Linked DNA regions of Homo sapiens: regions 1 and 2 are each linked to region 3. The links are contacts of gene promoters, found by promoter capture Hi-C in human tissues and cell types (Jung and others, 2019). All regions are on one chromosome and are shown on one strand. Each heading gives the region's core, a stretch centred on a gene start or on the middle of the fragment in contact. The rest is flanking DNA. Distances are from core to core; before and after follow the strand shown.

Region 1 (3,050 bases), core at 269-2,768, 240 kb before region 3:
ACAGAGCAAGACCCTGTGACTCCAAAAACAAACAAACAAACACATTTTGAACCCAAACAGATCTGACCCAAGATGCATGCTCTTATAGATGCCACCTCCCTGTGTGCTGGGGCTTCTACTAAAAACACAGACAAGATCAGGCAACCACAGTCAATCTAAGGGAAAGAGGAAAGTGTAACCAAAGCACAAATACATAAAATATTGCAAAAAATGCTATTTAAAGAAAAAAAAGAGAAGAGAGGCTCTGAGGTTGTACTAACAGAGAATGGCCTTGGCTAATCCAGGAAGACTTCCTGAAAGAGGTTGTTTTTTCCCCAGGTCTGCTTTTGACATCTCTCTTTTCACAGTGCATCTGGGTAGTGAGCTTCCTCTCCTCCTTCTTCCTCAGCCTGCCCTATGGTGTGGCAGTGGGTGTCGCCTTCTCCGTCCTGGTCGTGGTCTTCCAGACTCAGTTGTAAGTGATAGCTTCCGCCCTCCTAGGCCCACAGTCGGTTCCCTGGGCCAGCCCGCAAAGGGCTTCCATGCCACGGCCTGGCTTAGTCCACTGTACCTTCCACCTCTGGGCCTGGCACTGGAGGTGCTGCCAGGCCCAAAGAGAGCCCAACCCAGCCAGGACTGTGGGCACAGTCTGGGCTGTTTGACTTCCCATATCTTGAAAACCCCAGAGAAAGCCAGCATACTCTTGCTGGGGATGGCTGGGGAGAGGGCAGTGGCAGAGAAAGGAGGGCAAGGGCAGGTGGTGAGATTCAACATCCTTCCAAAGACATTGCCAGAACCCCAAACCAAATGGGACCCCACCCCAGGAGAGCGCCAGGGTGGAAGACAGAAGCTGTGTTCTACACACTGGGAGTATTACAGAGAAGGGGTCTTGGCCCAGGCAGGGAGTACGCTGAATGTTGGGGGAATCCTATCTTCTCTTCTTGAGAACTCAGAACAAGGAAATGATGACTTCAGGGCGACTCCCACCACTTCTCCCACCACTTCTCTCCCCTGCCCTGTGGTCTGGGAGCTATGTCAAGGACCTGCCTGTCATCCTCATAGTTATAGGAGGCCACAGGCCACCAGACATGTGTCTCCAGTGCAAAAAGACAGACACAGCAAGTCTGGGGGTGAGGACAGGACCCCATCCTACCTTGGCTCTGCCCCCGCCCCAGCAGGGGCACCCTTCCAGGCCCATGTGCCATTAGCATTCTCTTATGTTTTTCTCTTCCTGCTTCATCCAGTCGAAATGGCTATGCACTGGCCCAGGTCATGGACACTGACATTTATGTGAATCCCAAGACCTATAATAGGGTAGGTAATTCAAGCTTATGACCTCCTTCTTTTGCTCTGCACCACCCCAAGAAGAGGTTGCTTTTTAAAGCCAATAAAGACATTTCTGCAACTTGAGCTCAGTCTCCCTGTCACAGGCCCAGGATATCCAGGGGATTAAAATCATCACGTACTGCTCCCCTCTCTACTTTGCCAACTCAGAGATCTTCAGGCAAAAGGTCATCGCCAAGGTAAGGCTCAGTCCCTGGCGACCAGAGGCTCTGGACAGAGAGTGGCCGGAAAATGGAAGCAGAAGGGCGGTGGGAGCTGAGAATAGGCCACTCCCATAGAGGGTGGAGGTCAAGATTGCTGTTGGCTCTCTCCCTGCAGACAGGCATGGACCCCCAGAAAGTATTACTAGCCAAGCAAAAATACCTCAAGAAGCAGGAGAAGCGGAGAATGAGGCCCACACAACAGAGGAGGTCTCTATTCATGAAAACCAAGGTGAATGAAGGCCAGAAGCAGCCCCGTGCCCTGCTCTCCTGCCCATTCTGATACTGCCCCCTGTTACTCATGGTACCCTGGGGGCCCCGCTTCCCACCCTGACAGGCAAAGACAGAAAGTCTCTGGGAACACTGCCTGGTGGCCGCTGGGCATTTTTCTTCTTTTTTTTCTTTTTCTTTTTAGAGATGGAATTTTGCTCTTGTCACCCAGGCTTGAGTGCAATGGCGTTATCTTGGCTCACTGCAACCTCCACCTCTGGGGTTCAAGCGATTCTCCTGCCTTAGCCTCCCAAGTCGCTGAGATTACAGGTGCCACCACACCCAGCTAATTTTTGTATTTTTAGTAGATATTGGGTTTCACCATGTTGGCCAGGCTGGTGTCAAACTCCTGACCTCAGGTGATCCACCTACCTTAGCCTTCCAAAGTGCTGGGATTACAAGCCTGAGCCACTGCGCCCAGCCTGGGCATTTTTCTTCTTGGATGAGGTGCTACCATCTCCCAGGGAAGCCACTGAACCCCCAAGGCCCTTCTCCATTTTCTGGCTAAGATAGGACATGGCCCATGGACTTTTGAACAACCCAGAGGGGGAACAGCAGTGAATTTCCTGGGGAACCCAGGCAGCCCAGGGCTAGCAAGGCTGGGGTGGCCATGGCAGTAATCCTTGTAATCCCAGCACTTTAGGAGGCCGAGATGGGAGAATCACTCTCATGAGTTCAGGAGTTCGAGACCAGCCTGCCCAACGTGGCGAAACGCTGTCTCTACTAAAAATACACAAAAATTAGCCAGGCGTGGTGGTGGGCACCTGTAATCCCAGCTACTCAGGAGGCTGAGGCACGAGAATCACTTGAACCCGGGAGGCAGAGGTTGCAGTGAGCCGAGATAGTGCCACTGCACTCCAGCCTAGGCAACAGAGGGAGACTCTGTCTCAAGAAATAAAGGAGCTCAGTGTCCCCGGAGGGGCTTTCTCCCAGAGAGAGTGGGCTTGAGGCTTCAGTGCCTCTCTTGGCTGGGTCCTCTGACTTTGTCTGGGTTGTAGGAGACCAAGTTTGCAGGCCCTGCCTAAGAAAGGGCTTTGGGAGAGGCCTCTCTGGTGGAGCTTTCAGGGTCTGTGTTCACCATCACCGAGGCGAGTTATTCCCCTACACCTACACCCTCCATGCCCCTGCTTCAGTCACAGCAAGGTCTGGCTCAGTCTGGTGGTCCCTGACTCTGCCCACTGTCCCCACCCTTCCAGACTGTCTCCCTGCAGGAGCTGCAGCAGGACTTTGAGAATGCGCCCCCCACCGACCCCAACA
Region 2 (3,167 bases), core at 135-2,634, 140 kb after region 3:
GTTTAAGAGATACTAATAGAGATACTTCCTAATCTGGCTGTCGTTGCTTTCATCCTTATCCTTATACCCTAGCAGATTTACCAAGAGGATAAATCCCAGCTGGAAGTCTTGGACATCTGGCTCCATTTTCAGCATTATCTCCAGATTAGGGCAGCCAGGGAGAAACTTGGATGTGGAGGGCACACAGCCCTGCACAGACACAGACAACTATGAAGTCAACTATTAAAAGACTCCCCATGCATAAAATCCTTCCATTAATAGTCAATAATGGCTAATATTGTGTGACATATTTTGAGGACTTTTCCCCTGTGTCAGGGAAGTGGGTATGTTTTTTATATCTCCATATTACACATAAGAAAACTGAGGCACAGAGAGGTGAAGTAAGTGGCCCAAGGTCGCTCAGCTAGCAAGTACACTAGCCAGGATTTGAGCCCTCTGGCTCTAGAGCCTATGCCCTTAACCACGAGGCTATCCTGCTAGGGTTACACTTTCCTTTTCAGGGTCTTGTGAGGCACAGCTTGACCCCTGACCCTCTTTGGGTACCCTGGGCCACCCCATGGGTCCAGAGTCTGATTTTGAACTCTAACCAGCCACCCCACCCCAGCCCTTGGCTCCCCAGCAGAGTGAAGTGGGTCTGCTCCAGCTTGAGGCTACTAGGAGCCCATTGATGGCATTGCCTAGAGCCACATCATGCAGAATGAGCTCCTGGCAGCACAAGCCCGCGCTGTTCATTCGGAGCTGCGGCATGCTCACTAGGTCCTCATGGTGATGCTGGGAGGTGGACTAGAGTATCCCATTTGGCATGTGAGGAATTGAGCTCCGTGAGATTAAGTCACTGGTCCAGAATCACAGAGTAGCCAAGCCAGGATTCAAACCCAGACCTCCACGTGCCATGTGCAGCTCTCCTTTCACAAATCCACAGCTGCACTCCAGGGATTCCCGGCTGACAAATGTAGTTTGGGTGTCTTACTGTGGTCTTTAACCCGCAGGACCCAAAGCTACAGCGTTTCCAGTTTCTTTCCTTCCCAGACTCTCAGGAAACCACTTCTCAAACGTCTACTTGCTACAGAATTGCTTGAGGAGAGTATTTAAAATGCAGATTCCCAGAGTTCATCCTCCAGGGATTCTGACTTTGGAGGTCTGGGGTAGGGCCCAGGACTCTGCATTCTTAGCAGACCCTCAGATAATTCTGAAGCAGGAGGGTCCTGATGCACCCATCTCTGAGAAACCTGCTTTACACCCATCTGAGTGGTATCTGTCCCAACCCCTACTCATGGCAAGGGGCCCATAAACCTCTGAGGGATGACTAAATGTTCCGGTGTGGTTCAGGTTTCTCTCTGGGGGTTGAAAATGTTATAAAGTGCAATGGGAGATTTTCTAGGCAGAAGATGGGTCCTTTGCCTTCTGAGAGATGGGGCTACTTCTCTTGGGTTTCACTCTATAGGTGAAGGCGGAGTGAGGGGAGAGGGCCGCCCCTTGAGGGCTCAGCAGGGCCCTAGCCTGCGCCTGTTTTCAGACCAGGTTGCTGCTCTTTTGGCTGACGTCATAAAACAGAGCCCTGGGTGGGCGTGGTGGCTCACGCCTGTAATCTTAGCACTTTGGAAGCTGAGGCAGCGGGATCACCTGAGGTCAGGAGTTCAAGACCAGCCTGCTCAACATGGTGAAACCCCATCCCTACTAAAAATACAAAAATTAGCCACGTGTCAAGTGAGGAGCACCTCTCTCTGGCCGCCGCCCTGTCTGGGAAGTGAGGAGTGCCTCTTTCTGGCCGCCACCCTGTCTGGGAAGTGAGGAGCACCTCTGCCCGGCCGCCGCCCACCATCTGGGATGTGAGGAGTGCCTCTGCCTGGCCGCTGTGCAACCCTCCAAGTGTGAAGTGACAGCCTTGTGGGTGATACTTCTGCCCTCCCCAAGTTTGCATTTTTGACATTGAAGTTTACTTTTTAATTAAAAGTTTTAAATTGGAGAATAAAAAAAAATTAGCCAGGCGTGGTAGCACACGTCTGTAATCCCAGCTAACTGGGAGGCTGGGGCAGGAGAACTGCTTGAACCTGGGAGGTGGAGGTTGCAATGGGCCAAGATCGTGCCACTGCACTCCAGCCTGGGCGACAGAGCAAGACTCTGTCTCAAGCAATAACAACAACAACAGAGCCCCAAGTCAGTGTTTCTCAACCTTGCCCCAACCGCTTCCGAATCACCTGTTATTTGTCAAAAATGCAGATTCCTGCCCCCAACTCTGATTTGTTGAATTAGGATGAGGAAGAGGGGACAGCGCCCAGAAATCTGCACTCTCGGCTGGCACCCCAGCCATCACTTATGCACCTGAATGCTTGAGAAATTCTGTCGCAGAACATGGACTTTGGAGTGTCACAGACCTGGGTTCCAGTCCCAGCTCTGCCACAAAGTAGCTGCGTGGTCTGGAGCAATCTCAGTCTCTGTGAAACTCAGTTTCCTCATCTAAAGAAATAGGTTACTACACAAGCTTATTGGTCTTGCTGTGAGTTGATTCTCACAAGACCAATCAAACAATGAAGAAATGTACGCAAAGCACTGGGCACCTCGGAGAGATGGCACCCCCAGCCTAGTGGTAAAGAGAGGGATGCATAGAGGAATGCTTTCTCTGGGAGGAAAGAGCTGGGAGCACTGAGCATTACTCACCCACTGGCAAACACTGACCCACTTCAAAACAATTCTGACTTTCCATTTCCTCTGGGGGGAGCTCAGTGAAGCTTTCAAAGGTGACTAGGTCCTTTCCCATACTCAGGTGTGAGCCATCCCAAGTCCCAAGTTGGGGTCAGGTGTTGTAAACAAAAAATAATACAATTTTGACTCCTTCCACACCTCCAGCTGAGCCCTCCATCCACGGCCCCACCTGCCATTTCCCCTCCACGTGACATTCCTAGATCCCTCACTGGGTGGCAGGCCCAGTCTGAAAGGCCCTCTTGGCAAACCACGGGTCTGCCAAGGTCCCTGGGACCTGTAGCCTCAAAGCCAGGAGTTTCCAAATCCTTCCTTCTCTTTGGCTCTCCCAGTCTGGCCATGCAAAGAAACGCCAGAGCTTTTAAAAAGTTTCGGCCATTCATAATGGATTAGTCCACTCCGGAAACATTCCCCAGCTCTGCTGAGAGCCTGCCAGGCGACTTGGTGACGTGCTGCTCTCAGCGCAC
Region 3 (3,292 bases), core at 189-2,688:
CCTGTCATAAGGCATAAAGCACAAGGGCCCCTGGAAAGAAGTGGTGGGAGGCAGGAGGAAGAGGGGGGCTCTTACTTGTCTGTGGTGCGACAACTCTCTCATGTTCCCAGTGTTCTTTCCCAAGCCTGCAAAATACCACCGTCCACTCTCTCCTGGCTCTGTAATTTTCCAGCTGACCTGAAATTTCCCCTGACTCCTGACCTCTTTCCTGGAGGAGAGGGGACACCAGCTCAGAGACCCTGGACTCCACCCTAGTCTCTCTGCTTGCCACGAGAGGGTATGCCAAAGACTTTGGAAAGCCATCTCCAGGAGGGTCCCCAGGTAGAGGTGTGTCTGCTCCAGGGAGGCAACGCTGAGACAGTTTTCAAGTTAAACTTGTTTAGTGACTCAGAAGGTAGATTCTTGATTTTTCTCTTCTCAACTCTCTCTGGCACCTGCTCTCTGTTCCCCACTACCACCAGGGCGCCACTATTTCCTCTCCCTTCTCTATCTCCCTTTCTTCTCTGCCTCCTTCTACCTCTCAGCTGGAAGGTGCCCTTAGAAATCATTTGGCTCACCCCCTCTTACAGAGGCCCAGAACATGGAAGGGACTTGGCCCACGTTATACGGCTGTTGACACAGGGCCAGCATTGGAACCCAGTGCCCCAGTGCCTGGTTGGCTAAGGCCAACCAGGTCTTCCCCTTCGAAGGCATCTTCCTGGGACTTTGTAGTATTCAAGTCAACAATCCAACTAAATTGGATTTCTCTCCACCCAATAAAACTCCATGGAGGAAAAAAAGACAAAACTGCCCCCCAACCCCCAACCCCAGGGCCAGCCTGGGACTCCATCAAAGACATTCTGGAACAGGTATCTGTTCGGACCTTGCTCAACAGCTGACAAAGAGAACATTTCATTGGCAATTTATCATCCATTCTTCCCCGTACACACTCTTAAGAAGAAAAAAAATTGGAATTTGGTTTTCAGCGCAGAAAGAGGGATTGAGTTAGCTCTGTCTGCGTCGGAGAATAGCAAAGAGCAGAAGGGTAATTCGGAGAGAATGTGACATCTCCTTTGAAGGGATGGTCCTGGACAGGTAGGGAGCAGCTCTGCCTGGAGATCGGGTGGCCAGAATGGCACGCCTGGGTAATGGTCGCAGCAGACTGGCTCCGAGTAGGGGAGGGGAGGTGCCCCGCGAAGCCGGGTAGCTTTCACCTAAATGTTTGGTGGCGAGCGACAGAGGGGGCGGTGCCCTGCCCTAGGTAATGATAGGGCAGTCTGGGAGCCACGCGGGGGCTGCCCGTCGCGGCGCGGCTACAAAGCCAGCTTCGAGACCTCCCGCTTTCTTCCCCTGGGTACCAGCCCCACCCCTCTATCCCCCCTCGCAGCACCCCCCACCTCCGTCCCGCCTCGCCCCGCCCCCCTCCTGGCAGTCCCAGCGCGCATGCTCTCTCCCCCCGCGGAGTAACCTGGAGATTTAAAAGCCGCCGGCTGGCGCGCGTGGGGGGCAAGGAAGGGGGGGCGGAACCAGCCTGCACGCGCTGGCTCCGGGTGACAGCCGCGCGCCTCGGCCAGGTAGGAGCGCGCCCCCTCCTCTCCCAGGGGTGAGGGTCCCGGCGCGGGAAAGGGAGCAGCAGTGCACGGCCGAGCTCCGCGCTGTCGCGTGTTTTGCGCCCCGCGGGATGGGGCTGCGCCGTGGCCGTCCGGGGCGCTGCGCGCCGAGCCCCGCGCGAATCCCAGAGGAGGGCGCGTCCCACACGCTCTGCCGGGGCGGGTGCCGAGTGCCCGGCGCCTGCACGGGTCCCCGCTGAGCTGTGCTTTCTTCCGCGGAGGGCGGGCAGGCAGGAGGTGCCCGCGCTGTCCCAGGCGGGGCGGCGGTGTGGGCGGGGAGCGGCCCCTCCCCGGAGCCCCGGGCCGGGCCGGACCGGGCCGGGCCGACGGCTGGCGGACCGGCCGCTGGCTCCTGTTGCAGCCTCCCGTGTCAGACTTTTCTTTGGAAAGTTGCGTTTATTTTCTTCTCTTGTCTGGGCTTCACCGGAAAGGGGCAGGATGAGTCACTGCGGCGCGCACAGTCCGGGACTTGGGGGAGCCGGGACGGGAGCCGACGGCCGCGGCGCCGCGGGGTGCTCAGGCCCAGGCCGGCTTTCTTGAGGAAGAGTGAGTTATTAAGACAGGGAAAGGGGACTGAGCCCTCTTGGACTTAGAACTGGGGCGAGCTCTGGGTACAGAGTTGGGACTGGACCGTGTGTGTGTGTGTGTGTGTGTGTGTGTGTGTGTGTGTGTTACTGTGTCCCCTTTTCAGCCTCAGTTTCCCCCTCTGTGGGGAGAGAAAGGCCGCTGTTTTCTCCTCGCCTCCCAGGTCTCAGGTGGGGAAGGACAGAGTTCTGCAAACGGCAAACAGGTGTGATGTGGTGGTACCTAGGCATCCCGTGCAGCTTCTCAGAGCTCTGGGCCTAGGCAGGCTTGCTAGAAAAGCCCCAGGGACCTGCATGCTTTCTCCCTAGTGCGGGTCAGGCCTTCCTGTAGTCTTCCGCTCCCCCCAGGCACTGCAGTCCTGTGAGTTGCTCTTGCCCTTGACCTCTGAATCAGCCTCCATCTTCCTGACAGACACTCTTGACCTGCTCAGCTTTTCCCCACTCCAGGGCGTGTTCCCTATGCTTCCTCTTTTTCCAAGGGGCCAGAGTTGGGGGTAGGGAGGGGTTTGGCATGGTGGGTACCTGGTGAGGACTCGCCCTTCAGCTGTTACACAGACCCGGTCCCGGTGGAGCAGGGACTAAGAATAGCCCAGCTGCTGTCTTGCTGCCCTGGAGTCTGCAGCCGGGCATTGCCAGTTGACCAGGGCCCGCAGTGACCCTTGCTGGGGTCCTGGAACCTTTGCTCAGGGGTGGGGTTGAGGTCCTAGGGGCTTCGGACTACCTTTCCTGAGGCACTTAGCAGATCTCCTTTCAGAGCAGAGACCGCCTTGGTGTAGACTCACCTGCCCGAGGCCTGGGAAACAGGCTGGCCTATTGGGGTGGGAGTGGGAGGGCCCAGGAGGCCCAGGCTAGACGGGAAGCCTGAGGAAACCCATAGAGCAGCATATTGTAGGGGATAAGTGGGACGCAATTTGAGGTCGCAGGCCATTCTGTTGGATCAGTCCCATTCCCTCATTCCTCCCTTATCTCCTCCCACCAGGCCTGTCGTGGAGCCAGGACTCTGTTGTTCTGAAAGTGCTCAGAAAATGCAGCTTGAGTCAGCAGAATGAGTTTGAAGATAAAAATACAGCTGTGGATGAATGTACAGCTGTGGACAGACAGGCCCCAATTTAGTGGGTG

What was found. Contacts are between HindIII fragments. The study calls those that stand out against the background at their distance.
Region 1: a fragment that was not itself captured here is called in contact with the fragment with the promoter of SLC45A3 in region 3 in 1 of the 25 tissues and cell types used here (aorta).
Region 2: a contact is called between a fragment that was not itself captured here and the fragment with the promoter of SLC45A3 in region 3, in 1 of the 25 tissues and cell types used here (aorta).

What each region holds. Positions count from the first base shown.
Region 1 is chr1:205,921,787-205,924,836 of GRCh38, reverse strand. It overlaps SLC26A9 (solute carrier family 26 member 9), which reads left to right. Exons shown (of 21, transcript NM_052934.4): 13 at 348-454; 14 at 1,224-1,293; 15 at 1,410-1,502; 16 at 1,642-1,755; 17 at 2,990-3,050. Among named protein-coding and RNA genes, the nearest start is that of SLC26A9-AS1, 12 kb to the left of the region's middle. The HindIII fragment of the contact is 3,074 bases long and covers 1-3,050 here.
Region 2 is chr1:205,543,701-205,546,867 of GRCh38, reverse strand. No RefSeq gene overlaps it. Among named protein-coding and RNA genes, the nearest start is that of SLC60A1, 24 kb to the left of the region's middle. RefSeq lists an enhancer at 3,033-3,167. The HindIII fragment of the contact is 8,375 bases long and covers 1-3,167 here.
Region 3 is chr1:205,678,655-205,681,946 of GRCh38, reverse strand. SLC45A3 (solute carrier family 45 member 3) reads left to right here and starts at 1,438. Exons shown (of 5, transcript NM_033102.3): 1 at 1,438-1,553. LOC105371701 (a long non-coding RNA gene) reads right to left here and starts at 1,577. Exons shown (of 4, transcript XR_007066825.1): 1 at 1,448-1,577. RefSeq lists a silencer at 1,674-1,893. The HindIII fragment of the contact is 16,856 bases long and covers 1-3,292 here.